6 separate regions of the Homo sapiens genome follow, and regions 1, 2, 3, 4 and 6 are each linked to region 5. The links are contacts of gene promoters, found by promoter capture Hi-C in blood cells and fetal thymus (Javierre and others, 2016). All regions are on one chromosome and are shown on one strand. Each heading gives the region's core, a stretch centred on a gene start or on the middle of the fragment in contact. The rest is flanking DNA. Distances are from core to core; before and after follow the strand shown. Region 1 overlaps GRIK5 (glutamate ionotropic receptor kainate type subunit 5). Region 2 overlaps POU2F2 (POU class 2 homeobox 2). Region 3 overlaps GRIK5 (glutamate ionotropic receptor kainate type subunit 5). Region 4 overlaps POU2F2 (POU class 2 homeobox 2). Region 5 holds the start of CNFN (cornifelin). Region 6 holds the start of RABAC1 (Rab acceptor 1).

Evidence for each region. Contacts are between HindIII fragments. The CHiCAGO score rates a contact against its expected background, and 5 or more counts as called.
Region 1: a fragment that was not itself captured here is called in contact with the fragment with the promoter of CNFN in region 5 in 3 of 17 cell types (erythroblasts, naive CD4 T cells and naive B cells); the score reaches 6.5 in erythroblasts.
Region 2: a contact is called between a fragment that was not itself captured here and the fragment with the promoter of CNFN in region 5, in 17 of 17 cell types (naive CD4 T cells, naive B cells, fetal thymus and 14 more). The highest score is 21.3, in naive CD4 T cells.
Region 3: a contact is called between a fragment that was not itself captured here and the fragment with the promoter of CNFN in region 5, in 1 of 17 cell types (naive B cells). The highest score is 5.2, in naive B cells.
Region 4: a contact is called between a fragment that was not itself captured here and the fragment with the promoter of CNFN in region 5, in 15 of 17 cell types (fetal thymus, neutrophils, naive CD8 T cells and 12 more). The highest score is 13.0, in fetal thymus.
Region 6: a contact is called between the fragment with the promoter of RABAC1 here and the fragment with the promoter of CNFN in region 5, in 3 of 17 cell types (erythroblasts, total CD4 T cells and fetal thymus). The highest score is 6.8, in erythroblasts.

Annotation. Positions count from the first base shown.
Region 1 is chr19:42,029,243-42,033,743 of GRCh38, reverse strand. The region is part of intron 12 of GRIK5 (glutamate ionotropic receptor kainate type subunit 5); the gene reads left to right. Among named protein-coding and RNA genes, the nearest start is that of ATP1A3, 37 kb to the right of the region's middle. RefSeq lists an enhancer at 990-1,762. The HindIII fragment of the contact is 1,873 bases long and covers 1,920-3,792 here.
Region 2 is chr19:42,112,881-42,117,623 of GRCh38, reverse strand. It overlaps POU2F2 (POU class 2 homeobox 2), which reads left to right. Exons shown (of 15, transcript NM_001394376.1): 5 at 192-374. Among named protein-coding and RNA genes, the nearest start is that of POU2F2, 17 kb to the left of the region's middle. RefSeq lists an enhancer at 3,154-3,313. The HindIII fragment of the contact is 3,421 bases long and covers 1,060-4,480 here.
Region 3 is chr19:42,003,636-42,008,490 of GRCh38, reverse strand. GRIK5 (glutamate ionotropic receptor kainate type subunit 5) reads left to right here. Exons shown (of 20, transcript NM_002088.5): 16 at 1,681-1,846; 17 at 2,543-2,768; 18 at 4,808-4,855. Among named protein-coding and RNA genes, the nearest start is that of ATP1A3, 12 kb to the right of the region's middle. The HindIII fragment of the contact is 1,642 bases long and covers 582-2,223 here.
Region 4 is chr19:42,095,740-42,100,228 of GRCh38, reverse strand. POU2F2 (POU class 2 homeobox 2) reads left to right here. Exons shown (of 15, transcript NM_001394376.1): 6 at 408-513; 7 at 611-702; 8 at 3,986-4,147; 9 at 4,300-4,441. Among named protein-coding and RNA genes, the nearest start is that of ZNF574, 22 kb to the right of the region's middle. The HindIII fragment of the contact is 9,200 bases long and covers 1-4,489 here.
Region 5 is chr19:42,387,421-42,391,792 of GRCh38, reverse strand. CNFN (cornifelin) reads left to right here and starts at 1,496. Exons shown (of 4, transcript NM_032488.4): 1 at 1,496-1,553; 2 at 2,754-2,867; 3 at 4,317-4,372. The coding sequence starts at 2,756. RefSeq lists a silencer at 4,209-4,372. The HindIII fragment of the contact is 9,287 bases long and covers 1-4,372 here.
Region 6 is chr19:41,957,370-41,962,155 of GRCh38, reverse strand. RABAC1 (Rab acceptor 1) reads left to right here and starts at 2,835. Exons shown (of 5, transcript NM_006423.3): 1 at 2,835-2,919; 2 at 3,208-3,420; 3 at 3,773-3,870. The coding sequence starts at 2,864. RefSeq lists an enhancer at 2,458-2,747 and silencers at 2,858-3,107, 3,558-3,627. The HindIII fragment of the contact is 29,553 bases long and covers 1-3,859 here.

The DNA of each region.
Region 1 (4,501 bases), core at 1,607-4,106, 360 kb after region 5:
ACAAGCATTAGCCACCGTGCCCAGCCTGATCAATTTTTTTTCTCTTTTTTACTGAGGTGAAATTTATGTCACATAAAAATAACCACTTTAAGGAGTGCAATTCAGTGGCATTTAGTACATTCACAGTGTTGTGTAATCACTATTGCTATCTAGCTCCAAAACGTTTTCATAACCTCCCATAAAACTCATACCCATTAAGCAGTCGCTCCCCACTCCCTCCCCGCTACCCCAACCCCTGGCAACCACCCATCTTTCTGTCTCCATGGGTTTACCTATTGCAAATATTTCACATAAATGGAATCATCCAATATGCGGTCTTTGTGTATGGCTTCTTTCACTTTGCATGATGTTTCCAACTTTTCAAAGTTCATCCACATCATGGCATATACCAGTACTGCATTCCGTTTTTTTTTTTTTTTTTTTTTTGAGACGGAGTCTTGCTTTCTCGCCCAGGCTGGAGTGCAGTGGCATGATCTCGGTTCACTGCAGCCTCCACCTCATGAGTTCAAGCAGTTCTCCTGCCTCAGCCTCCTGAGTAACTGGGACTACGGGCACACGCCACCACACCCGGCTAATTTTTGTATTTTTAGTAGAGACAGGCTTTCACCATGTTGGCCAGGATGGTCTTGATCTCCTGACCACGTGATCCACCCGCTTCAGCCTCCCAGAGTGCTGGGATTACAGGCGTGAGCCACTGCGCCTGGCCTGCATTCCTTTTTATGGCTGAATAATATTCCATTGTATGCATAGGCCAGCAGGATCTAATTTTTAAATCATTTAAAAATGATTGCACTGGCTGCTGTCTTGAGGAACACCTTAGTGGGACAAGAGTAGAAACTGAATGGTCCATTTAGGAGGCTGTTGGAGGGTGTGGATGAGAGAAGATGTTGCCTTGGTTTGAGTGGCAGCTGTGTCAGGTGTGCAGCCAGCTTGGATGTGCATAAGAGGAAGAGAGGAATCGGGGTGACTATGGGGTTTGGCCAGGGCAGCTGGCGAATGGCGAGGCCAGTTTCCACTATAAGGAGGACATGGGAGGAGCAGTTTGCTGGGGCCGGGAAACAAGAGTTTTCTCTGGTCACGGATCATTTGAGATGCCTGCTTAAAATTCAAGTGAGGATATAAGGATTCCATTGTGTGGCTCAGCATGAATTATTTACCATATCCCCTATTGATGGCTATTTGGATGGCTTCCAGCTTTGCTAGCATAGCCAGTGTCATGATAAACTTGGCCTGTGGATTTGTGGGAGTGTTCCTGAGGGATACATTCCAAGAAGTGAAAGTGCTGGGTCAAAGGGTATAAATTTTTTCTAAGTGTATACTGCCAAATGGCTGTTCAAAAAGGCTTCGCCAATTTATATTCCTACCAAAGTGCATGAGAATGTGAAATTTCCCATACTCTTGCCAACAGTCAGTGTTACCAATCTCTAAAATAAAATCTTTGCCCATCTCAAAGGCCAAATATAATATCATTGTTTTAACCTAAACAGAATGTTACTTGGCTGCATAGTAGTAATTCCATGTGGATGTACCATAATTTATTTAGCCATTTTTCATAACTAGTTGTTTCCAGGTGTTTTTATTGTTTGTGCTCTTATAAATAATCATTAACAAACATCTTTTTTTTATTTTTGAGATTGGCGTCTCACTTAGTTGCCTAGGTTGGAGTGCTGTGGTGCCATCACAGCTCACTGCAGCCTCAACCTCCCCAGGCTCAGGTGCTCCTTCCACCTCAGCCTCCTGAGTAGCTGGGACTACAGGTGTGCACCACCATGCCTGGCTAATTGTTTTGTATTTTGTTGCCCAGGCTGGTCTTGAGTCCCTGGGCTCAAGTGGTTCACCCATTTTGGCCTCCCAAAGTGTTACGATTACAGGCATGGGTTGTTGCACCTGGCCAACAAGCATCTTTATGCACAAAAGCTTTGCCTGCATTGCAGCCTATTTTCTTAGGATTGGTTCTCTGAACAGAATAACTGGGTGGAAGAAGAATACCCTTTTTGTGGCTTTCGTGATATTTTGTTGAATTATTTTCCAGAAAGACTACAACAGTTTCTATATAGGCTCCTTCTCAGCATTGAGTGTTTTTATCGGCTTTTAGCTACTTAGACAACTCCCTGTCATTTTCATGGATGGCATATCATTTTGATTTTTCCTGCTTTGACTGGTAGACCACACAGTGGGACTTATGTGGTCAAGTGATTGGTGGAATCTGAGCCCAGGTTAACTCAGAAGGGGCCTGATGGGGCCATGGTCCCACCCTGTGTTTTCCCAGTTCTTGGTTGTATAACTGGAATAGACACACATGGTAGCTGGCAGAATCCCACGTTGGCGCACTGACCCATGGAGTCAGGGCCATTATGGTAGAAAGAGCCACGTGGAAGCTCCTAGAACTCCCTGTCTTTCCCAGAATAGTAATTCAAAAGCAATTCTCTATCCTTTGTGCAAATTGTGGAAATTAGTGTCACCATTAACGGCTTGGAAGAAGCAGGGGTAGTGATCCCATCTACATTCAGCTGGCCTGTTTGGCCTGTACAGAAGGCAGATGGATTTTGGAAGAATGACTTTGGATTATTGTCAACGTGATCAGGGGTGACTCCAATTGCAGTTGCTGTCCCAAATGAAGTTTCTCTATTGGAGCAAGTCAGCACAGCCCTTGGCAGCTGGTGTGAGCTACTAACCTGGCAGATGCTTTTTTCTCCATACCAATTTCCAAGGGCTACCAGAAGGCAAGGTTCACATCTTCACAGTCTTGCTCAGTGTGACATCAACTTTCCCACTTTCTGTCCTGATTTAGGCTGCAAAGAACTTGAACTCTACAGTCCACATAGCCTCACACTGGTCCCCTACATTGACAACAGTATGCTGATCAGATCTGATGAGCAGGAAGTAGTTGAGTCAGTGCAGTTGGCATTAAACCTGGCAGATGGCAGTCTGGCAGGGTCCAGTCTGGCAGGGTCCAGTCTGGATACAAAACAGCGCCGGTTGCCAGATGCAGTGGCTAATGCCTGTAATCCCAGCACTTTGGAAGGCTAAGGCAGGAGGATTGCTTGAGCTCAGGAGTTCAAGACCAGCCTCAGCAACATAGCAGGACCTTGTCTCTACTAAACATTAAAAAAAAAAAAAATTAGCTGGGCATGGCACATGCCTATAGTCACAGTTACTCGGAAGGCTGAGGTGGGAGGATCACTTGAGCCTGGGAGTTCGAGACTACAGTGAGCTATGATCACGCTGCTGGACTCCAGCCTGGGTGACAGGGCAAGACCCTGTCTGAAAAACAAAAACAAAACCCTGGCTGGGCACGGTGGCTCGCGCCTCTAATACCAGCACTTTGGGAGGCTGAGGTGGGTGGATCACCTGGCCAACACAGTGAAACCCCATCTCTACTAAAAATACAAAAATTAGCCAGACTCAGCGGCACGCACCTTTAATCCCAGCTACTCAGGAAGCTGAGGCACAAGAATCGCTTGAACCCAGGAGGCAGAGGTTGCAGTGAGCCAAGATCGTGCCACTGCACTCCAGCCTGGGCGACAGCGAGACTCTGTCACAAAAACAAAAACAAAAATAAAAACAAAACAAAACCCAGCTCCATTTACTTGAATAGAATCATATCAGTTATTTGAATAGAGAGTATTTAGTATAAAGAATTGTTAACTAAATGTAAAGTTGTTAACCAGCTAACTTAAGGGGTAAAAAGAAAACTAAGAGGTCATGGCAGTAGCAACGGCAGAAAGCAGCTACCACACTTAGTCCTTAAGGGACAAGTAGAAGAGTTTGAAAGATGAAAACTTAGAAGCTTAGAGGAGGGCCCCACAGAGCTGAGACAGACTGCTGAGGAGGGGGTGCTGTTTGGTTGATGATGTGACATTTGGTGGACTTTTTGGATTTTGGTGGCAACTCATACCACATTGGGATGTGCTACTTCAATCCATTTACTTTCCCTACAGCCCGTAAGGCTTTTTTCATCTGGAGTGAGGTCCAGAGCATCAAAGACTCTGCAGCCAGTCCAGGCTGCATGCGAGCTGATCTGCCACCTGGGCCAGATGTAACCAGCAGATCGGGAGATTCATTCGCAAAGTATTGATGGCAAATAGGAATGCTGTATGGAGCCTTGAGCAAGCACCAGTGGCTAGCTCATGGTGCAGACCTCTAGGGTTTTTTTGTTTGTTTTGAGACGAAGTCTCACTCTTGTCCCCCAGGCTGGAGTGCAGTGGCGCGATCTCGGCTCACTGCAACCTCAGCCTCCCAAGTAGCTGGGATTACACAGGCGCCTGCCACCAAGCCTGGCTAATTTTTGTATTTTTAGTAGAGACGGGGTTTCACCATGTTGGCTAGGCTGGTCTCAAACACCTATGCTCAGTTAATTCTTAAAAGTTTTTGTAGCAGCCAGGCTCGGTGGCTCACGCCTGTAATCCCAGCACTGTGGGAGGCTGAGGAGGGCGGATCACGAGGTCAAGAGATCGAGACCATCCTGGCCAACATGGTGAAACGCCGTCTCTACTAAAAA
Region 2 (4,743 bases), core at 1,521-4,020, 280 kb after region 5:
GGGAGTTTGGGTGCAGGTGTTGTGTTAGCCCTATCTGATTGATGAGGAAACTGAGGCCAGAGGAGTGGTTTGAAGCTCCCAGCGGTCAGTGCAGGACCACAGACTGCACCCTCATGTCCACACCCCAGTCTGCTCCTCCTGTGCCAGCCTGATTGCCATTGCCACACACGTGCCCTCTCTTTGGTTCACAGGTGGGCATTCTCTCTGGCCTCCACTTAACATTCTGGGGTCCCGGACCCTGCCTCTCTCCCCCCCAGATCAAGGCTGAAGACCCCAGTGGCGATTCAGCCCCAGCAGCACCCCTGCCCCCTCAGCCGGCCCAGCCTCATCTGCCCCAGGCCCAACTCATGTTGACGGGCAGCCAGCTAGCTGGGGTAAGTACTTGGGGAAGGATGGGGACGAGGGGACAAACCAGCCACCCCTCATCTGTTACAGGGCTAGTGGATGAACTGTTCCACCAAGGCCATGGCCACTCTCTCACACCTGCCTCTTGCCCTCTTCTGTCCTCTAGGAGGTCTTGTCCCCTTACTTGCTTGGCTTAGGCACTAACCCCTCTCTGCCTTCTCTGCTCCTCTTCAACCCCTTGCTCCAATTCCTGCTGTCCCCGACACCCCGCAGCTCACGGCACTGATGCCAGCTCAGCAGCAGCTCCTCCTGCAGCAAGCCCAGGCCCAGCTCCTGGCCGCCGCCGTGCAGCAGTCCAGTGCCGCCGCTGCCGCTAACGCCGCTGCCGCCGCCGCCGCCGCCTCCGCCTCCTCCTCTACTTCCTCCTCCTCCTCCTCCTCTGCCTCCTCCTCGACCTCACAGCCCCCAGCCTCCTCTGGGGGGGGTGACCTGCCACCACCACAGCCTGCCAGCCAGCCCCCTGGGACCCCACAGCTCACCTTGTCCCAACCCATCCAGCTCACAGCACAGGTAAGGGCAGCCACTGGGGACCAGGCTCCCTGCAGTGAAGGACATGCAGAAACAGTGAGTGTGTGGGAAGGGGCTGACTGGTCCACATGGACTGTTCTGACCACCAGCCACATGCCAGGCAGTTCCTAGCAACCCTAGGAAGCTTTGGAAGATGTTGCTGTCCCATCTTACAGAGGGGTAAAGTGAGGCTCACAGGGAGGAATATCCCACATCATAATCCTCCCTCTGGTGGTGTGTTGGGGGCAGTGCTTCCTGTGCATCTCGCTGGGAGTTCACAGCCTCCTGGGAGGTTGAGATTGTTGTCCTCAACATACAGGTAAGGAAACCAGGAGTCACTCTCGTGAATGGTACCATGTGGGTACAAAACAAAAGGTTAAGAATAAGAATGAGTGCCCTACCCTCATCGTGTCCCCTGGCTTATCCAACAAGATGCTCTTTCAAAAAAGGGGCCCGTGATCTATGAATTAGGAGGTTCTCCATCACCTCCCTGACTCTGGAGCTTTTGCTGGTCCATAGTTAATCATGAATTAGTGGCTGTCTCAGTTTCCTAGGGCTGCCGTAACATAATACCATAAACTGGGTGGCTTAAGGCAACAGAAACATATTGTCTCCAACCACAAGTCCAAACTCAAGGTATCGGCAGGGCCGTGCTCTCTCTGAAGCCTCCCAGGGAGAATCTGTCATTGCCTCTTCTGGCTTCCGATGGTGCTGTCAATCCTTGGTGTTCCATAGCTTAGTAGATGGCTCACTCCAATCTCTGCCTCCTCTGTCGTCACATGGCCATCTTCTCTCTGTGCACCTGTCTCTGTATTCAAATTTTTCTTTCTTGTAGGGACACTAGTCATTAGTTTAGGGCCCACCCCATTGACCTCATTTTAACTTGATTACATCTGCAACCCTATTTCCAAATAAGGTCACATTTACAGGTACCAGGAGTGAGGGCTTCCACATATCTTTTTGGGGACACAATTTAACCCCTAACAGTGGCCAACAGAGTTCCCATAAGGACAGCCGGGGGAGCAGAGTGGGAGCTGAGTAGGCTTCCTCTTCCGAAGGGCAGCTGTCTCCAGCCCACTCCTGTCCACCCCTTCCCATGTCACCCATTCATGTTGTCTGTCTGGTTTTCACCCATTCATGTTGTCTGTCTGGTTTTCATAAGCCTTAGAGCTGTGGCCAAGTTTCAGGGCAGTGAAGGTCGTGGGAAGCCCTACAGCAAAGCCACCTGTTTAACTTCCCTTAGCCTGGCGTTTCCCTCAGTGACTGCTCCACAAAAGGCTTTTCTCTCACTCCGTCCAACCACTTCCACAGAACCCTAGATATAGATGCTGTCCATGCAGGGAGCTGTCCAGCCCTGGTAAGGCTGTTCCCTTGTTACAGTTCACCCCAATAATGGCCCGTTCCATTATTGGCCAATGCTCCCATTTGGGACTTTCCTTAACACTGAGCTGATAACCTGCCTCCTTAGAACTTCCTTCCACTGGGCCTGGTTCTGTGGAGACACTCTGTAAACTGGGCGCATGGCTCCGTGATGGCTCTTGTAGATGTAGCCTTTTTTTTTTGAGATGAGGTCTTGCTTTGCTGCCCAGGCTGGAGTGCAGTGGCGGATTATGGCTCACTGCAGCCTCGACCTCTTTGGGCTCAAGTAATCCTCCCACCTCAGCCTCCTGAGTAGTTGGGACTACAAGTGCATGCCACCACACCCAGCTAATTTTTTTATATATACATATTTTTTGTAGAGACAGGTTTTTGCCATGTTGCCCAGGCTGGTCTTGAACTCCTGAGCTCAAGCGATCTGCCCACCTTGGCTTCTCAAAGTGCGGGATTATAGGCATGAGCCACGGTGCTCAGCCCAGATGTAGCCTTTCAATACCTGGCTCTTGAAGTAACAGTAACTAGTCTGTTGGGTGCCACCTTTCTTCCAGGCACCATGCCAGTGATGGCCTCTTTGCTCCCATGAATCCTCCCCACAGCTGAGGCTCCAAGGGGTAAAGTGACCTGCCCCAGATTATTCTGTAAGCATGAGTGTTAGAGCCGGCCTGGAAGTCCAGGGCTCTAACCACATGATCCGCGGCTGCTGCTTTTAGCTGTCCTTCACGGAACATGGTTTCTAGCCCCTCCCACCCCGGCCACCAGAGACTCCAGCAGCAGGTGTTCCATTTGCCTTGTAGCATAGACAGCCCTTTACTGAGCAACGCCAAGGGCTTGGGGCTCTTCACTGGGGCTGAGCTCTTTTGCATCTCAGTGGCCCTGCTCTTGTTCTCTCTTTTCCCGGGAAGTCTGCTCCCTTCCTTTACCTGGACAGTTCCTCTTCATCTGAGCCCCAGCCCAGGAGTCCACACCTCTAGGAAGTCATGATGACTTCCCTCCCCCCAGCCGTGCCTGAATCTGCTCGAGGAAATATCAGTTGAAGGAACAAAGACTAGAGGATAGAAGGCAGAACAGGGCAGCCTAGCGCAGACCCAGCCAGGCCACCATCTCTGTGAGCAGCAGACATTCTTGCCTATGCACTCCTAGAGCCACCTCCCCCAGCTCCCCAGGGACCCAGCAGCAGCAAGCTGAGCCTCCACCACCTGCCGTATAGCCCAGGCCCTGATTGTCAAGGGCTCCTTAAACCCCTCCTCCTTTCCTCTCACTCCTCCTTCCCCAGCTTCCCTCAGCTCTGATCTTTCCCTTTCTGTCTTCAACAAGTGCAAAGCTGGGCCAAGTTTGTTTTCTGGGAATTCTCTCTCACAAACTGAGTTGCCCTTTGACGTCATTTCTACAACAGCACCTCCTATGGGCACTGTGCTGGGCCCAGGCTGCAGAGGGACCAGCTCTTCCTGACTTACCTACCCACTGCTCCAGCCTTCCCCGGCTCCTAGGCTCGGATGTCTCTCCCGGGCCGCATCTCATGACCTCCACCCCCCAGTCCACTTCTCATGCCTGCTAAGCTCTGATCCTGCAGTCATTCCACAAACATTTCCTGGCCTCCTGTGTGTCAGGCCATGGCAGGAAGCTGAAGACTTAGGAGTGAGTCACAGCCATCCTTGCCCCTGAGGGGCTCCCCGTCCTGCAGTGGAGCAAGCACATCAGTGAGCCACTAAGAAATGTTTCACTTGAAAGATACTAAGAAGCCCAGGAAAGAGAGTAAAAAACACTCATAAATGCTATCCCTTTGAAATTATATAAAGTACCAAGGAAAAGCCCCCCTTCCAGCCCTCTGATGTCAGCTTCCAAAGTAAATGCTGGTTAAACAGTTTGGCAGGATCCTTCCCTGCAATCTCCTAGCTTGTACAGACGAAGGGGCAATTATAATACAGTTCTATAATTTGTCTGTCCATTGCTCAGTGTGCTGCCTTCTGCCGAGGGGGCTGTGTGGATATTTACCGAATCAATGAGGGATGTTTTGCGGCAGATTTTCAATCAAGGATAGGAGAGATATCTCTCCAGGGAAGTATTTCAGAATGTCTGGGGTAGGGGCAGGCATTGATTGAAAACTTACGTTAACAGTTAAAACATCATTTTATATTGGAGAGTAGGGGGGAAAATTTCCTATTTTCCTAATAGGACCATGGCAAATAAAGCTTGACAAAATCTTTTAGGCTGCTACGACCTAGCGAGTGAAAGTTTCCCAAAGAAACCAACTGAGTGTGATGGGAATGTGGGAAGAGAAATGTGATGTGTGTCTGAGGGAATCAGGACCCACATCTGTCCAGGCTTTCAGGAGGAGGTGGGATCTGAACTCAGGGGAATGGGAAGGAGTTTGCTGGGAAGGGGCTTCCAGGCTGTGGGAATGGCAAGTGCAAAGTGAGAAAACAGGGCAGGCTGTAGCCGCACAAATAGGGATGG
Region 3 (4,855 bases), core at 153-2,652, 380 kb after region 5:
CACACCCAGCTAATTTTTGTATTTTTAGTAGAGACGGGGTATTGCCATGTTGGCCAGGTTGTCCTTGAACTCCTGGCCTCAAGCAATCCGCCCACCTCAGCCTCCTAAAATGCTGGGATTACAGGTGTGAGCCACCGTGCCCAACCTGGTATTTTTTTAAAAAATTATGTAATAGGCCGGGCACAGTGGCTCATGCCTGTAATCCCAGCACCTTGGGTGGGCGAGGTGGGCAGGTCACCTGAGGTCAGGAGTTCAAGGCCAACCTGCCAACGTGGTGAAACCTCATCTCTACTAAAAATACAAACATTAGTCAGGCGTGCTGGCAGGTGCCTGTAATCCCAACTACTCAGGAAGCTGAGGCGGGAGAATCACTTGAACCCGGGAGTGGCCAAGATCACACCACTGCACTCCAGCCTGGGTGACAGAGTGAGACTCTGTCTCAAGAAAAAAAAAAAAATTACATAACAGACATTGTTTACATTGCTGAATATATTTTTTTACAGAGTATTTATAAACTTTTTCTGGAATCTAGTTAGGTTACTTGTGAATTACTTTGATACTTCTAGGCCTGTTTTTAAGCTTTTTTAGTGCAGCTTTAGCATTGCCTTTATTCTAGGGCTAACTTAATCCTATTTCTAGTATGTTACACTTTTGGGTCTCTACTGAATGTCTCATGTATTCAATGAAATCTTTCTACTCTGGCTGCAGGGAGCTCAAAAGACTCTCAGCCCTGTGTCAACTCTAAGAATTGTTTTCTCCTTGAAAGTTGCTCTTGTCCAGCCCCACAGAGTTTCACCCCATGCATGCACAGATTGATATTCAGCCAAAGACTCAAGGGGACCACCGGTTTCTGAATCCTCCCTCTCTTTGCAGCTCCCTCCTCTCAGGCACTCTATCCCCCAAATTCCAGCCATGTTGGCCTGCCTGATCACCAGTCTCCGTCTCTGCAACTCAGCAGGATTGCTGGGCTGTTTGGGCTTCCCTTCCTATAAATTAAATCCAGCCAAGCAGCCTGGACAATAAGACTCATTTTGTTTCTCTTCTCAGGGATCACAGTTCTATGATGTCTCTTGTCCTATGTTTTAAATAGTTTCCTGGCCGGGCGTGGTCGCTCACTCCTGTAATCCCAGCACTTTGGGAGGCTGAGGCAGGTGGATCACCTGAGGTCAGGAGTTCGAGACCAGCCTGGCCAACATGGTGAAACCCCGTCTCTGCTAAAAATACAAAAATTAGCCGGGCGTGATGGTGGGCACCTGTAATCTCAGCTACTTGGGAGGCTGAGGCAGGAGAATCACTTGAACCCCAAAGGTAGAGGTTGCAGTGAGCTGAGATCGTGCCACTGCACTCCATCCTGGCTGACAAAGCAAGATCTGTCTCAAAAAAAAAAAAAAAAGAAAAAAGTTTCCTGTATTCTATCCAGCTCTTTAGCTGTTTATGGTGGGAGGGTATTTCCAGACCATCTTACTCTTTTATATCTGGAAGTAGAAGTCTCCGGATGCAATATTTACAACCAGGAAGTCTGGCTTCAGAATCCACACTCCCCGCTTCTGCACCCAGCAGTCACTGAGTCTTCCAGATGCTGGGGTCACTTGGGAGGGGCACCACCAATGGGGGGCATGGCCACGGGGGCAGGTCAGCAGGGGTGACTCCAGCCCGTGACTCACCCCTCCCACCCTTCAGGTGGGCCTTCACCTTGATCATCATCTCCTCCTACACGGCCAACCTGGCCGCCTTCCTCACCGTGCAGCGCATGGAGGTGCCTGTGGAGTCGGCCGATGACCTGGCAGATCAGACCAACATCGAGTATGGCACCATCCACGCCGGCTCCACCATGACCTTCTTCCAGGTGGGGCCACCAGAACCTCTCAGGCGTGGTGTTGGGATCCCTGCCATGCAAAGCAGCTCAGGATGGGTCTGGGCAGGGTCTCCTGGGTCAGAGGGACTGATTGTCAGTGACAGCCTGGAGGCTGGGGAGCAGAAAACACACATGTGCTGTCATGGGGCTCGCAGCTGGCTGGCTAGGGAACTGGGGAATGAGGGCAGGGAGGCATATGTGGTATCAAATGTCAATGTCATATGGGCCAAATGGGATCAAGGAGGCTGCTGGAAGGGTCGGGACCAGGAATATGGGCTGACAGAGAGAAGGGAAGGCCCTTCAAGGTGAAAAGTGCTTGATCTTTTGTATTTTGGGGTGGTGGGAAGGAAAGAAGAGGAAAGCAAGCTTGGCAGGGAGGTCCTAGTGGTCTAAAGGAGGCCTGAGTTGGGCAGCGGCCACCGGCTGGAGGGTTAAGGGGAAGGAGGTGGAGGTGCACTCACCGGGCCCCCCAGGTGGGTGGTGGGCACAGTGGCTGTGGGGATGACTTGGACCTGGCCTGGACAGTTTGTCCATCTCCTCTCTCTCCTCTACCTTTGGCTCTGTCTTCCTTTGATCACCTTGCATTCTCCTGGGTTGAGGGAGACTTCCTGGAGGATGGGAAGGGCTCGGGGAAAGGAAGCGGCTGGAAAGACCCTCCCATCTTCCCCTTGTGATCCTCCTGCCCAGAATTCACGGTACCAAACGTACCAGCGCATGTGGAACTACATGCAGTCGAAGCAGCCCAGCGTGTTCGTCAAGAGCACAGAAGAGGGCATTGCCCGCGTCCTCAACTCCCGCTACGCCTTCCTGCTCGAGTCCACCATGAACGAATACCACCGGCGCCTCAACTGCAACCTCACCCAGATCGGGGGACTCCTCGACACCAAGGGCTACGGCATTGGCATGCCGCTGGGTACGGCACAGCACGGTGTGGAACACAGCAGGGCCGTGGGCATCCAAAACCACCTGTGAGCAGGCCCAGGACCGGGCCAGGCACCCCCGAGGCAGGCTGGGTGTGTTGCATGTGGCCTCCTGGCTGTATGGTCTTGGGCAGGCGACATCACCGTCCTGAGCCTCTGTACCCCCAACCTGCAAAACCAGGCCTAGCAGCAATCCAGCCCTCCCAGAGCTGTTGGGAGAATTCAGTGAGACTGTGTATACAATTCAGTATATGTGGGTGGTGGGGCTTGCTGTCTTCCCCCAAGGGCCCTGTGGGGGTGAGGACCTGGTCTTGTTTCCTATTTCTTGGAAAAATCCTATAGCCTGGCTCAGAGCAGGTGCTTGAAAAATGCTTGTAAGATGGATGGGAAGGATGGAATGATCTGGTAGGGAGACTTGTATGTGCCTATTTATATTTCAGGACAAGTTTGGTGTTTTGTTTTTTTTTTTTTTTTTTTTGAGACGGAGTCTTGCTCTGTCGCCCGCCTTGGCCTCCCAAAGTGTTGGGATTACAGGTATGAGCCACCTCGCATGGCCCAGGACATGTTTTTCCAGGACTCAGTGGTGGAACTCACGACCAAATTGTCACCAAATTTTGGCATTTTGGCTTTTAAAATCATTTATGTACTGATGACACCTGTATTAGTTATCTATTACTGCATAGCAAATTGCCCCAGATCTTAGCAGCTTTGTAGGTGAGTCGGTGCCAGGGAGGCAGTGTAGCTTGGTGCTTGGAGGACAGGCTCAGGAGTCACACCGACCTGGATTCAAATCCCAGTTCCGGCTGGCCACTGTGGTTTATGCCTATGATTCCAGTGCTTTGGGAGGCCAAGCCGGAAGGATCACTTGAACCTAAGAGTTTTGAGACCAGCTTGGGCAATATAGCAAGACCCTGTCTTTACAAAAAATTAAAAAATTAGCCAGGTGTGGTATGCACCTGTAGTCTCAGCTACAGGCTGAAGTAGGAGGATCGCTTGAGCCCAGGAAGTGGAGGTGGCAGTGAACAATGATCATGCCACTGTATGCCAGCCTGGGTAACCAAGTGAGATTCTGTCAAAAGAAAGGAAGAAATCTCAGTTTCCTCCCTGACTCAGTGCACAGTCTTAAGCAAGTGTATCACTTTCGTCATTCAGAAACACTTGCCTCAGGTGGGATACCTGTCCCACAGGATCATCATAAGACCTGAATAAACCCAGGGTCTGGCACACAGTTGGTGCCTGGTAGATATTAATCACTTTCATCTGCCCGTGTCTCTGGTTCTGTGGTAGTTGGTCGGGAAGTATCTTAGTCAATGAAGAAATAAGTATAGAATAGGGTGTGTGGGGTGTTGAAGCCCAAGGATGGCTTAAGGGCAGGATGTGAGGTTGGGGAGGAGAGGTGGTCCAGGGAGAGGTGTGGATGGGGATTCGTCTGGTGTCCAACTGCATGCCAAGTCCCGCACTGGATGCAGACGAAAGATGATAAACACATAGCCATATAATACAGTGTTAGGTGGTGACAGCTGCTCCAAAGTAAATTAAAGGGAAGACACTGACAGGGAGTGGGGCGCTTGGTGCCATTTTAAATAAAGTCATCAGAATAGACTCCCTGGGGAGCCAGCATGTGGGCAGAGACCTGGATGAAGTGCGGAGAGGGACATTCCAGGCAGAGGCAAAGGTCCTAAGACAGGACTGTGTGTGATGAATTTGGGGAGCAGCCAGGAGGCTGATGAGGCTGGAGCTGAGAGCCGTGGGGGTGAGGGTGTCTGAGAGTGGCCGAGGGGAGGAGCTTGCAACAGGAAGCCATGGAGAGTCCTGAGCACAGGAAAGGTATGGCCTCTGACTCTTCCTAACACTGTCTCTCTGGCTGCTGTGTTGAGAGGAGACTGGGCTGGGGGTGAGGAGAGGCTGCAGGGAAGACCCTGGGCACGTGGTAGAGGCGGGGGAAGGCCGTGGTGAGGGCACAGTTTGGGGTTTGGGGCGGTCAGGGCTGCAGGGCCCGATGGCTGGTCCAGCCCCTCGTGTGCCTGCCCAGGCTCCCCGTTCCGGGATGAGATCACACTGGCCATCCTGCAGCTTCAGG
Region 4 (4,489 bases), core at 529-3,028, 290 kb after region 5:
TCCCAGCTACTTGGGAGGCTGAGGTAGGAGAATGGCGTGAACCCAGGAGGCGGAGATTTCAGTGAGCCGAGATCACACCACTGCACTCCAGCCTGGGCGACAGAGCGAGACTCAAAAAAAAAAAAAAAAAAAAAAAAAAAAAAGAAAGAAAGGGTAAATAAAGAGTGAGCCCTCCCAGGACTGCCCAGTTGGGACTCTCTGGTACCCCATGGTAGAGAGAAGCCTCTGGGTGCCCTTAGCTCAGGGATGCCATTCAGAGACCGAGTGGACGATCCCTCACTGCCCAGTGCCAGATCGCCATGTGGAGCAGCTTCCTGGTTTCAGCCCCTCAAGGTTCAGGTGATGCAGAGAGGATGAAACCCAGCCAGGACTCAGGCTATCTTTCTGTCCACCCCACTCCCTGCCAGGACATACAGCAGCTCCTCCAGCTCCAGCAGCTGGTGCTTGTGCCAGGCCACCACCTCCAGCCACCTGCTCAGTTCCTGCTACCGCAGGCCCAGCAGAGCCAGCCAGGTAAGGCCCCCACCCCAGATGGCCTCCCTGACGCCTCCACAGAACTTCCTCACCTTCCCCTCCCCCTCACCCTGTGTATTTCCCCTTGTCTTTCCAGGCCTGCTACCGACACCAAATCTATTCCAGCTACCTCAGCAAACCCAGGGAGCTCTTCTGACCTCCCAGCCCCGGGCCGGGCTTCCCACACAGGTGAGACTGTCCATTGAGTGCACCAGGCCAGGCCAGCAGCAAGGCCTGCTGAAAGCTGGGTAAACGGGGGTGGGGGATGAGTGAGAGTCTCCTTTCCATTTGACCCAGCCACACTCTGCCAGTGATTTGCTGTGAGACCTCAGGCAAGCCCATCTCCCTGTCTGGGTCAGCCTCTTCCTCTATAGAATGAGGGGAGCTGGCCCAGACAAGTGGTTCTTAACCCTTTCTAGTACATGAGCTCCTTTGAGAATATGATGAAAGATTTAGATCTGATCCCCATTCCCCCAAAATGCTCATGTGTAAAAACACACAAAATTGCAAGGGGCTGCAAGCCTTTAGGCTGCAAATGCCTCGGGCCTCTTCCAGCACTGCAACGGAGGATTCTCTGAACAAGGCATTCGTTAGGTGATTATTTCACATCCACTTCCCAGACTGGAGACTGAAAACAAGGCCCACAGGTGTCTTTTATTTGGTCATTGTCAACTAAATTCCCAGAAAGCACCACATTTCCAGCTCCTCTTGATAAACCAGAAAATCTGGCAGGGCTGTACCTGTGTCTACGTGGTGGCTTGGCGCAGTGAGCAGTTGGCCTGGCCACTGGCAGGAGCAGAGGCCCCTTAGAGAGGGTGCCAGCTCTCCAGGCCACCTTGGCACCTGGACCCCGAGGCCTTTCTTTCAGTTTGCTGCCTGAGTTCTAGACTTTAATGATAATTTTCACTACCTTTTATGAATTTCAAAGTTTTTTTCTACCCATTTTTTATAGCCCTTTAAAAAAATATATGTGAACTATTTCAGAAGGACTGACTGAAGAGTTAGAGACTAATACAGGTCTTAACTGCAGTTCTGAAATCCCAAATGCTCAGAAAGTCAAGTTGTTCTTCCACCATTGGCATGAGAACTCATTTGACTGCAAAACCTGCCCTGCCATGATATAAGCCAGTGTATGACTTTTCTTTGTCCCTCTTGGTATGGCATTTTTGCTGCTGCAAAACTGTTACTGTATCTGATTAAGGAGTAATATTCTTGACCCTAGTGGGGGTGGGGGCCGGGCCACATTATCTATGATATACATCCTATGTAGGCTTTCTTTCTTTTTGTTTTTTTTTTTTTTTTTGAGATGGAGTCTCGCTCTGTTGCCCAGGCTGGAGTGCATTGGCTCAATATCAGTTCACTGCACCCTCTGCCTCCCAGGTTCAAGCGATTCTCCTACCTCAGCCTCCCAAGTAGCTGGGATTACAAGCATGCGCCACCACACCCAGCTAATTTTTGTATTTTTAATAGAGATGGGGTTTCACCATGTTGGCCAGGCTGGTCTCGAACTCCTGACTTCAGGTGATCCACCTGCCTCGGCCTCCTAAAGTGCTCGGATTACAGGCATGAGCCACTGTGCCTGGCTGCCTATGTAGGTTTTCTGAAAACTGAAACAGGCACGGTGGTGCATGCCTATAGTCTCAGCTACTTGTGAGCCTGAGGCAAGAGGATCACTTGAGCCCAGGAGTTTGAGGCCAGCCTGGGCAACATAGCAAGACTGGTCTCTAAAACAACAACAACAACAAAACCTGAGAGGGGTGAGAGTGGGTGGATGATGAGAAATTACTTAATGGGTACAATGTACACTGTTTGGGTGATGGATACACTAAAAGCCTACGCTTCATCACTACACAATACATTTGTGTAACAAAATTGCACTTGTATCTTTTAACATTTTGTTTTTTGTTTGAGACAGGGTCTTACTCTGTCACCCAGGCTGGAGTGCAGTGGTGTGATCACAGCTTACTGCAGCCTCAGCCTCCTGGGCTCAAGTGAAGCAGTCCCCAGCCCTCCTGAGTTGCTGGTACTACAGTCACGCCCCACATGCTTGGTTAATTTTTAAAATTTTTGTAGAGATAGGGTTTCGCCATGTTGCCCAGGCTAGTCTCAAATTCCTGTGCTCAAGCGATCCTCCCACTTTGGCTTCCTAAAGTATTGGGATTACAGGTGTGAGCCATTGCACTCGGCTGTCCTTAAATTTATACCAAAAAAAAAAAAAAAGGCAGGGCGCAGTGGTCACCCCTGTAATCCCAGCACTTTGGGAGGCCAAAGCGGGTGGATCACCTGAGGTCGGGAGTTCGAGACCAGCCTGACCAACATGAAGAAACCCCATCTCTACTAAAAATACAAAATTAGCCGGGTGTGGTGGCGTATGCCTATAATCCCAGCTACTCGGGAGGCTGAGGCAGGAGTATCACTTGAACCCAGGAGGCAGAGGTTATGGTGAGCCAAGATCGCACCATTGCATTCCAGCCTAGGCAACAAGGGTGAAACTCCATCTCAAAAAAAAAAAAAAAAAAAAAACTGAAAAATTCCTAAACATCTGCCCCAGCATTTTGGAGAATAATGGATAAAGGACCTGAGCGACAAACATCCCTGTACCCACCACCTGCTTCATATCCTTTATTGTTAGGGCAATGAAGAATCCCAGATAGAGCTGTTGCTTTTTTGTAAATCTCTCTAATTGCCCTCCCAGTCCTTTTTTTTTTTTCTTAACTTTTACTTTATTTGCAATCTACTCATTGCTTAGGACTTAATTTCTTAAGAGCTGTTTTAGATTCACAGCAAAACTGAGTGGAAGATATAGAGATATCCCATCTATCTCTGCCCCTACACATGCACAGCTTCCTGCATCATCTACATCCCCAACCAGAGTGGTACAAGCGTAACAGGTGATGAACCTACATTGACACATCACTATTACCCAAAGTTCATAGCTGACATTAGGGTTCACTCTTGGCATTGTACAGTCCATGGGTCTGCACGACCTACTCATTTTTAACCCGATTCTCTCAACAGCCCCACTGGGTAGACAGAACAGCAGTGATTGTTCCCATCCTGCAGAGGGGGAAAGTGAGGCCTGGGCTAAGCAGTGATTTGGTGGCAGGGCCAGTCCCTGATTCCCAGGTTGAGATGAGGATGAACCACTGCCTCCAGCTCCAGGGAAAGAGCCCTGGCACAAAAAGCTGGCTGCTCCTTCTGGGAGTTCGCAGGCGTGAAGGGACAGTGCAGAGAGTCCCAGGCAATGAGGAAACCCATGTAGGGCAGCAGAGTCGGACCTTTAAAGGGATTAACAGTGCATGTGGAGGGACCTTTAAAGGGATTGACGGTGCTTGTGGAGGAAGGCGGGGGGAGTCTGCAGGCGGCGGATGGAACGCAGGGGCGAAGAGGGCGGGAGGGGGACTGTGCACCCATCGCTGAGCCCCATCCTGGTCCTCCGCCCTGCATCCCACCCACCTGCCCACCCCACCAGGCCGTGACCCGCCCTACGCTGCCCGACCCGCACCTCTCGCACCCGCAGCCCCCCAAATGCTTGGAGCCACCATCCCACCCCGAGGAGCCCAGTGATCTGGAGGAGCTGGAGCAATTCGCCCGCACCTTCAAGCAACGCCGCATCAAGCTGGGCTTCACGCAGGTCTGGAGGCACCTTGCAGGCTGGGCGGTGGGCGTGGGGGCGTGGCCAGTTGATAGATGCCGCGAGGGGCGTGGCCAGTGGGCGGGCGGAGCGGGCCCAGTGCCGGAAGGCCCCACCCTGACTTCGGGCCCTTCCCCGCCCCACTGGCCCAGGGTGATGTGGGCCTGGCCATGGGCAAGCTCTACGGCAACGACTTCAGCCAGACGACCATTTCCCGCTTCGAGGCCCTCAACCTGAGCTTCAAGAACATGTGCAAACTCAAGCCCCTCCTGGAGAAGTGGCTCAACGATGCAGGTGGGACCAGGCTGGGGTTCCCGCGTAGGGGGCGGGCAGTGGCCGCTG
Region 5 (4,372 bases), core at 247-2,746:
ATACCCGGCGGGGTGATGACACCACCTTCTCTGCAGGTGACACCCCAGTTTTCTAGTGCCTCCTACATTTTTGGGGTGACACCCGTGCTGAGAACCCCACCCAGCTCTAATGCTGCTTCCCTCACTGAGTCACCTCCCAACCCCGTCAGGCCTGTTGGGGGGAAACTTTGGCGATTCAGGCACCCAGACCCCCAGCTCCTTCCCTGCTCAGGAGCCCAGCAGTGTGGAATCCCAGGACCCCTACCCTACTGAGGGATGTGCAGCCTGGCCTCATGAGACGCAGGAGTCCAGGGCCCCAGCCCCTCCTCCCTCAGACCCAGGGGTCCAAGCCCCCACTCCTTTGCTCCATTAGGACCCAGGAGTCCCAGGTGACGTCCACGTCCTTCAGGAACTGCGGCTTTTCAGTTCCCAGCCTCCTCCCTTCCCAATTTGGAGCTGGGGTGAGGTGTGTTTATTTACTTTGGTTCCAACATGAGTCATTCCCCAAAACACACTGCCCCCCATGTGTCTCCTGGCTTGAATGGGGAGGACACTGTCCCCCTCTCCCAGGAAAGTGGGGATATCACTGAGAGAGATGAGCGAGACCCTGAAAGGGGAGTCCCACACAGCACTCTCTCCCACTCCACCCGGCCTTTTTCTCTCCCCACCCATCACCTCTCCCCATTTCCCTGCCCTCTAAGCCTGTTCAGTGATCCCCCCACCTGCCTCTCCACTTTTCCATCTCCGTCTCTCTTCTGTCTCCCATCTCCCCTTTTCTTTCCTTTTTTTTTTTTAAGACAGGGTCTTGCTCTGTCACTGAGGCCGGAGTGTAGTGGCGGGAACACGGCTCACTGCAGCCTCAAACTTCTGGACTCAAGCGATCCTCCTGCCTCAGCCTCTCAAGTAGCTGGGACTACAGGCACATGCCACCATGCCCGGCTAATTCTATTTGTATTTTTTGTAGAGATGGGGTATCCCTATGTTGCCCAGGCTGGTCTTCAACTCCTGGGCTCAAGCGATCCTCTCACCTCAGGCGATTACAGGGTTGGGATTACAGGCGAGAGCCACCATGCCTGGCCCATCTCCCCTCTTCTTGTTATTTCTTTTCACATTTTTGTGCCCCTCTGTTTCTTGGCACCTCTCCATCTCTCTACATCTTCCTGCGTCTCTCCATCTCTCTGAATCTCCTCTCTCTCCTTTCTGTCTAGAGGGACTTCCCTGCCTGCCTTTCTGACACTGTGTTTCTGTCTCTCCCTCTCTTTTGGTCTCTGCGCATTGACCCGGCTGTGGCCCCCCGCCCCCGCCAAACCTCCCACCCCCCGCCACCTTCTTTTCCCTGGGTCCTGGGAGCTGAGGCAGGAGGAGAAGTGGGGGGATGGGAGTGGAGAGGGAGGGCGGGAAATCCCAGTGTGGGGAGAGGGTCGATCAGACCGGCTTGGCTCCCTGGGCACCTCTGTCAGAGCCCCGCCCAGGGCTGCGTGGCCGCCCATATAAGTGGCTCTGGGCTGAGACGGAGAAGTCAGTGCCCGTGTCTCCACACGTCTGCCTCCATCACTGCCATCGCGATCCTGCAGGTAGGAACATCCCCTCCGCAGCCCTCTTCTTTGAGGTTGGGCGCCTCTGCTCTGTTCTCCCTCCTCCTCATCCCACTCATATCACTCTGTCTCCTTTCATATCGCTGATTGTCGGTCTCTCGGGACATCTCTGTCCTTCCCAATGCCCCCAAATCTGTCCTTCTTAACTGGGGTGTGCTGAGCTGAATTTAGAAGTCTTGGGGCCCAGCATCACCTCTATGAACCCCCTTGGCCTGGGCCGTCAGACGTGGGGCGTTCCTCCTCATGTCTCTGAGCCTCAGTGCTCATCTGTGAGATGGGCTTGCAGAGGAGTCAAAGTGCTGGGCACATGTGGGCATTACTGGTGACATCTCTACGGGCACCTGGCTCTGATCTTTCTCCCCTTGTCTCTGACTCTGTCCATCTCCATTTCTTGTTCTCCCTCAAGCTCTATCTCGGGTATGGGGAGGGTCCTCTGCAATCTGTCGGGCAGTTGGAAAGACATGGGCGAGTTTCTCGCCCCCGCCCTATCCATTCCCTATTCCATGTCTCTCCTGGTTGACAGGCTGACTTGGCCTCTTTCTCCCCAGCTCCCCTCCCCCTGAGAGCCCAGCCCCCAGTGCCCCAGTCCCTTGCCCCCACCTCCCCAGTATCCAGCGTCCCTTGGACAGACTCTGCCACTGTTGCCACAGCCACTTCTGCCGTCCCCAACGCCACCTCCTCAGGGCCAGCAAGATGCAGTTTGAGATGCACGACAACGTGAAAGGCAAAGGTGGGACCGCTGGGTGGACCAGCAACCCTCTCAGTACTGGAACCTGGCCGCCTCCCTCCCCTGGGCACCCTTGCTTCGAAGACAGACGGCGCCTGCTTCCACCCCAGAGGCCCCAGAAATGCTGCAACCCAGAACCCAGGCCCAGACGTGGAGGAGGAGGCGGCACCGCCAGGCCCCACCCAGATGTGGTCCCCACCCTTCCTCAGATGTGCAGGAGACCCCCACCCCCAGCCTAACCAGACGTGCAGGAGCCAGCAGCAACAGGGACAGACTGGGGTTGCCGGTGCCCAGATGTAGCAGAAGGGAAGGGGGAGGCACAGTGGTGTCCCTTCAGTGGGCGGCCTGGCGGCCCCGCCCAGACTGCCCGGCACAGGGAAGGGTGGCCGAAGTGCGGGGCCCAGGAGATGCTGCGAGGCTGCCAGCTGACCCCTACCCTCCCACCTCTGCAGCTATGTCCTACCCTGTGACCAGTCAGCCCCAGTGCGCCACCACCAGCTGCTACCAGACCCAGCTCAGTGACTGGCACACAGGTCTCACGGACTGCTGCAACGACATGCCTGTCTGTGAGTGCCTGCCTGCTCCCTCTCCAGGCCTGGTGGAAGATGGGTTTGGGGGGAATCAGGAGAGGGAAGCTCACCTCCAACCTCCTCCCACCGCTTGCTAACCCCACTCCCACCTCCCTTCCCTGGACTTGGAATTCCCACTCTAACAGTCACCCTTTCCTCAGACCCCCAACACTCCTTAGGATACTACCTCATGCCTTCCCACACTCAACTTATCAGGCCCTCAACCTCCCCTTTGCATGCTCAGCTTTCCTCACTGTGACCCCCAACTCCCTCTTCAAACCCTAGCTCCTGGCCCAGTGCAGTGGCTCATGCCTGTAATCCCAACACTTTGGGAGGCCAAGGCATGACAATCCCTTGAGGCCAGGAATTCAAGATCAGCCTGGGCAACATAATGAGATCCCCATCTCTACAAAAATAAAAATAAAAAATAGGTCGGGCGCAGTGGCTCACGCCTGTAATCCCAGGACTTTGGGAGGCCATGGCAGGTGGACCACAAGGTCAGGAGTTCAAGACCAGTCTGGCCAAGATGGTGAAACCCCGTCTCTACTAAAAATACAAAAAAAAAAACCGGGCGTGGTGGCGGGCGCCTGTAAACTCAGCTACTCGGGAGGCTGAGAAAGAGAATTGATTGAACCCGGGAGACAGAGGTTGCAGTGAGCCGAGATCACGCCACTGCACTCCAGTCTGGGCAACAGAGCGAGATTCCGTCTCAAAAATAAAAATAAAAAATAAAATTAGCCCGAGGTGGTGGCACACACCAGTAGTCCCAGCTACTCGGGAGGCCGAGGCGGGAGGATTGCTTGAGCCCAGGAGGTCGAGGCTACAGTGAGACATGTGATCACACCACTGCACTCCAGCCTGGATGACAGACCGAGACTTTAATTTCTTTTTCTTTTTTTTTCTTTCTTTCGTTTTTTTTTTTGTTTTGTTTTTTGTTTTTTTTGAGACGGAGTATTGCTCTGTCGCCCAGGCTGGAATGCAATGGCACAGTCTATGCTCACTGCAACCTCCGCTTCCCGGGTTCAAGCGATTCTCCTGCCTCAGCCTCCCTAGTAGCTGAGATTACAGGCACACACCACCACGCCCGGCTAATTTTTGTATTTTTAGTAGAGACGGGGTTTCACTATGTTGGGTAGGCTGGTCTCAAACCCCTGACCTCGTGATCCTCCCGCCTAGGCCTCCCAAAGTGCTGGGATTACAGGCGTAAGCCACTGCACCCAGCCTCCAATTTCTAAAAAAAAAAAAAAAGAAGAAAAAAAAAAAAAGAAAAACCCTGCCTTCCAATCGCTAAGCCATCCTCTCCTCGGACCTCTAATTCCCTCTGGGACCTCTCCTTGGCTGGGACCCTCAATGCCCCTCCGCGGCGAATCAACCGCGCCCCCCCCGGGGCGGAGCCGTCGGGAGGCCCCGGCTGGCCCCGCCCCTGAGCGCCTGCGCCCCGCCCAGGTCTGTGCGGCACTTTTGCTCCTCTGTGCCTTGCCTGCCGCATCTCCGACGACTTT
Region 6 (4,786 bases), core at 1,586-4,085, 430 kb after region 5:
TGGAATGAAATTGCTTTCATTCAGTTCCTATAAGGAAACCCAACAGCTCTCATAACAAAAGTCCATCCTGAATCTCCTACGGCCTGCCACCAAAGAGGCAGCTGGAGCTCTGTCCCAATTCTATTCCCCAAGCTCTGTCTTTCGGTGGAGGTTCTTCCAAGGGCTACCTCTGCTGCTTTGGCCCTTTGAATTCAGATGCTGCTCCCCTATTCCTGCTCGGGGCTAATTGTGCTATTGCACTCCTCCTTTGGTGTTTTCTGTTTTGTTTTGTTTTGTTTTTTTCTGAGACAGGGTCTCATTCTGTCGCCCAGGCTGGAGTGCGATAGCACACTCTTGGCTCACTGCAACCTCCGCCTCCTGGGTTCAAGTGATTCTCCTGCCTCAGCCTCCCGAGTAGCTGGGATTACAGGCATGTGTATTTTTTTTTTTAGTAGAGATGGGCTTTTGCCATGTTGGCCAGGCTGGTGTTGAACTCCTGACCTCAAGTGATCCACCCTCCTGAGCCTCCCATAAGTGCTGGGATTACAGGACCACGCCCAGCCCCGCAGTCCTCCTTTGATTTTCAAGTTTGAATCCTATTTAGAAAACCTGATTCCAGGCCAGGTGTGATGGGTCACGCCTGTAATCCCAGCACTTTGGGAGGCTGAGGTGGGCAGATCACGAGGTCAGAGTTTGAGACCAGCCTGACCAACATGGTGAAACCCCGTCTCTATTAAAAATACACAAATTAGCTGGGCATGGTGGTGCACACCTGTAATCCCAGCTACTCAGGAGGCTGAGGCAGGAGAATCGCTTGAACCCGAGAGGCGGAGGTTGCAGTGAGTAGACATTGTGCCACTGTACTCCAGCCTGAGCAACAGAGTGAAACTCCATCTCAAAAAAAAAAAAAAAAAAAAAGGAAACCTGATTCCACTAAAAGCCTGGGGGTGACAAAGAGGAAATAAACAGTAACTAGCCAATCTGATCTTCAAAGTGTAACTCTTCCATCTTCAGTGTGGGGCCCTTGCAAAGGGCTTCCCTGCCTATTGCGCCACCAGCCCCTCAGACAGGGCCATCTTCCTCCCACCTCCTGGGAACACCTTCCAGCAGGCCTCAAAGCACAAACCCTAAACTGCTGTAGATCTTGGAAGACAAGAGCTGGGCCTAAAAGAGTCACTTGGGGCCAGGCGCAGTGGCTCACACCTGTAATCCCAGCACTTTGGGAGGCCGAGGCGGGCAAATCACAAAGTCAGGAGTTCGAGACCAGCCTGGCCAACATGGTGAAACCCCATCTTTACTAAAAATACAAAAAATTAGCTGGGCATAGTGGCGGGCGCCTGTAATCCCAGCTACTCGGGAGGCTGAGGCAGGAGAATCGCTTGAACCCAGGAGGAGGTGGAGGTTGCAGTGAGCCAAGATTGTGCCACTGCACTCCAGCCCTGGCGACAGAGTGAGACTCCGTCTCAAAAAAAAAAAAAAGTCACTTGAACCTGGGCATGGTGGCTCACACCTGTAATCCCAATACTTGGGAAGGCCAGGCAGAAGGATCGCTTGAGTCCAGGAGTTTGAGACCTACTGGGCCAACACAGCAAAATCCCTTATCTACTTAAAAAAATTTTCAAAAAAAAAAAGGTCACCTGGTTATCCCATATAGATATTTTCCTTCCAGCCCCACCCAGCTGCTTTGGAAAATTAGGATCCCAGTCTGCTTAAGGGAGCCCAGGCTTCCCTATACTTCCACACACATTTCTTGAGGCCCTGTTCTGGTTCACCCCATTAGAATTCAATTAGAATTCCAGCCCTGTGGGCCAGGCACAATGGCTCACGCCTGTAATCCCAGCACTTTGAGAGGCTGAGACAGGAAGATCACGAGGTCAGGAGTACGAGACCAGCCTGGCCAACATGGTGAAACCCCGTCTCTACTAAAAAAATACAAAAATTAGCTGGGCGTGGTGGCGGGCGCCTGTAATCCCAGCTACTCTGGAGGCTGAGGCAGGAGAATCGCTTGAACCCAGGAGGCAGAGGTTGCAGTGAGCCGAGATTGCGCCATTGCACTCCAGCCTGGGCAACAAGAGCGAGACTCCATTTCAAAAAAGCCCACAAAACTTCTCAACCTTTTGTCTTTCCCAACTTCACTCCCTTCTCTCCAAAGGTGTGTGTGGCGGGGTCGGAGGTGTCCCTAGCCCCAACTCATTCATCTTTGGGACTCCACAAGGTGGGGCAGGGGGCAACCTCAGATACCCCTCCAGCAACCATGGCCCCCTCACTAGCCTCAATCTCTTGAGGAAGGAATCAATTCCCACAAATTATCTAAATCTTTCTACTCAAAATGTAGTCCATGGACCAGGGGCATCAGCATCACCTGGGAACTCAGAAATGGAAATTATGGGCTCCACCCCAGACTTGCTGAATGAAAACATCTGGGCTAGGGCCCAGGAATCTGTTTTAGCAAGCCCTCCAGGTGTTTTTTTATGCCCTCTAGAGTCAGAAGGACAGCTCTGCACGGTCCCCATTGTGCCTTCCCTGGGAGAGTACACAACGCCCGCTTCTGCCGTTAGAGTTCCCATAACGCCCTCGCTCCTGACAGCCCACATGCACCCTCCTGAAACTACAACTCCTATAATACCCAGAGGCGCGCGCCGTCACTTTCTGGGATTATATCTCCCAAGGTGTTTTGCGAGTCAGACCGCCATCATAGCGCCCATCCTCTTAGTCACCGTCAGGACTACAACTCCCACAATACTCGGCGGCAGAACTACAGTCCCCAGCTGCTCCGGGGCTGCGCCACGTCGACTCCGCTGGGTGGGGCCGGCGTCGGGCGGGGCCGGCGGGGTCTTCAGGGTACCGGGCTGGTTACAGCAGCTCTACCCCTCACGACGCAGACATGGCAGCGCAGAAGGACCAGCAGAAAGATGCCGAGGCGGAAGGGCTGAGCGGCACGTGAGCGAGCTGGCTCTAGGCCCTCGGACCAGAGACCCGGGAGTCCGGGCCCCCGGCCCCCTCCTCCCTCCTCCCTCGAGAGCCTGGAGTCCCAGCCCCGAGCCGCAGAAGTGTTGGCCCCGGTCTCCTCTAATGGGACCCTGGAGTCTGGGCCCCTAGTCCCCTCCCTGCCTGCTGTACAGGAATCTGGGGTCCCGGGAGGGAGTCCAGGCACCCTTAGTCCCCTTCTTTTGCGGGGGTCTGGGGCTCCATCCCGGTCCACCACTGACCCGGCCCCACCCCCCGCAGGACCCTGCTGCCGAAGCTGATTCCCTCCGGTGCAGGCCGGGAGTGGCTGGAGCGGCGCCGCGCGACCATCCGGCCCTGGAGCACCTTCGTGGACCAGCAGCGCTTCTCACGGCCCCGCAACCTGGGAGAGCTGTGCCAGCGCCTCGTACGCAACGTGGAGTACTACCAGAGCAACTATGTGTTCGTGTTCCTGGGCCTCATCCTGTACTGTGTGTGAGTGCCTCCCGGGCCCCGCACCCGCACTAGCCCCGACCGGCTGGACCCCTCCTCTCGCCGCTCAGGCCCCGCCCTTCACCGCCCGGTCCCTCCTCTCACCGCCCAGGGCCCTCTTCTCACCGCCCAGGCCCCGCCCCCAAGGATTGGCTCTGCTAGACTACCTTGTCACCAAAGGGCCAGGTCCCCTACCCCACCATCACCCTGGCCAGGATGCAGTGTGACTAAATGTCACCTGGCCCTCCCTGGTCTCCAGGATGTAGCTTGCCGCCCGCCGGTGGAGAAGGCCAGGGCCGTCGGGCTGGCCCAGCCCCAGCTGTCTAACCGCTGCCTCCCTGCACTCCTCCTCCAGGGTGACGTCCCCTATGTTGCTGGTGGCTCTGGCTGTCTTTTTCGGCGCCTGTTACATTCTCTATCTGCGCACCTTGGAGTCCAAGCTTGTGCTCTTTGGTGAGAAACCCCCTGCCCAGATGAATCCTTGGTCCCTCAAATCTTGGTCTTTTGGAATGCAGACAGACCTCAGACCCCAAATCCAAGTCCTTCAAAACCCAAGTCCGCCCAAGCCTAGATGTACACTAGATCCCCCAAACCTGATCCCTTAAAATCTCAGACACAACCGATCCTTCCATCGAGTCTCAGCCCCCTCAAATTGCTATTCCTCAAACCCAGGATCCACCTGGCTGCTGTGCCTTAAACCTACTCCTTTTCAAACCACATGACTCCTCCCCTCTCTCTCCTCCCCTTGCCGCTCTCTGCGGCCAACATCAGCTGCAGGTGCCCACACTGGACACCAGGTGGCCACCTTACACTGGCCTAGATCTGTTCCCGTTTCTTTTCCTGCTTTCTGGGGTGTGACCAGAAAGAACTTGGAACTTAGAGAGGGAAGCCGAGGAGTATGTTTCATGTGGTTCCCAGACTAGTAGTACCAAGGACCACTGGGAAAACAAAATGCCAGGGGAAATTCCCCCCAGGGGAAAATCAAGGTTTGGAGTGGGGTCAGGGAGTTGGGATTGGACAGTTAGGTAGACCTGAAGGCCAGGCTCTTCAGGGGCCTGCAAGTTATGTGCTTGATGGGCTGGGGTGGAGGGAGTGCCTGAAGCACAGGCACGACTTGGCTTCAGCTGATCACCGTCACCAGAGCATGTAGACCCCATCCCTGAGACTTCTATGAGAAGCCTGAAGTTGGTATTTTTATGTGAAATCGTTCACTTTGCCAGCCACAAATCACATCCTTGCAAAACAGCTCAAAAAACACATCCACAGGTCAGATTTGGCCCTTGGGCCACCAGTTTGAGACCCTGGTCTGCGCGAGGGTTGCAGCAGGAGAGCCCTAGTCTAGGGAGCAGGAAGCCGGGATCCCAGGAAC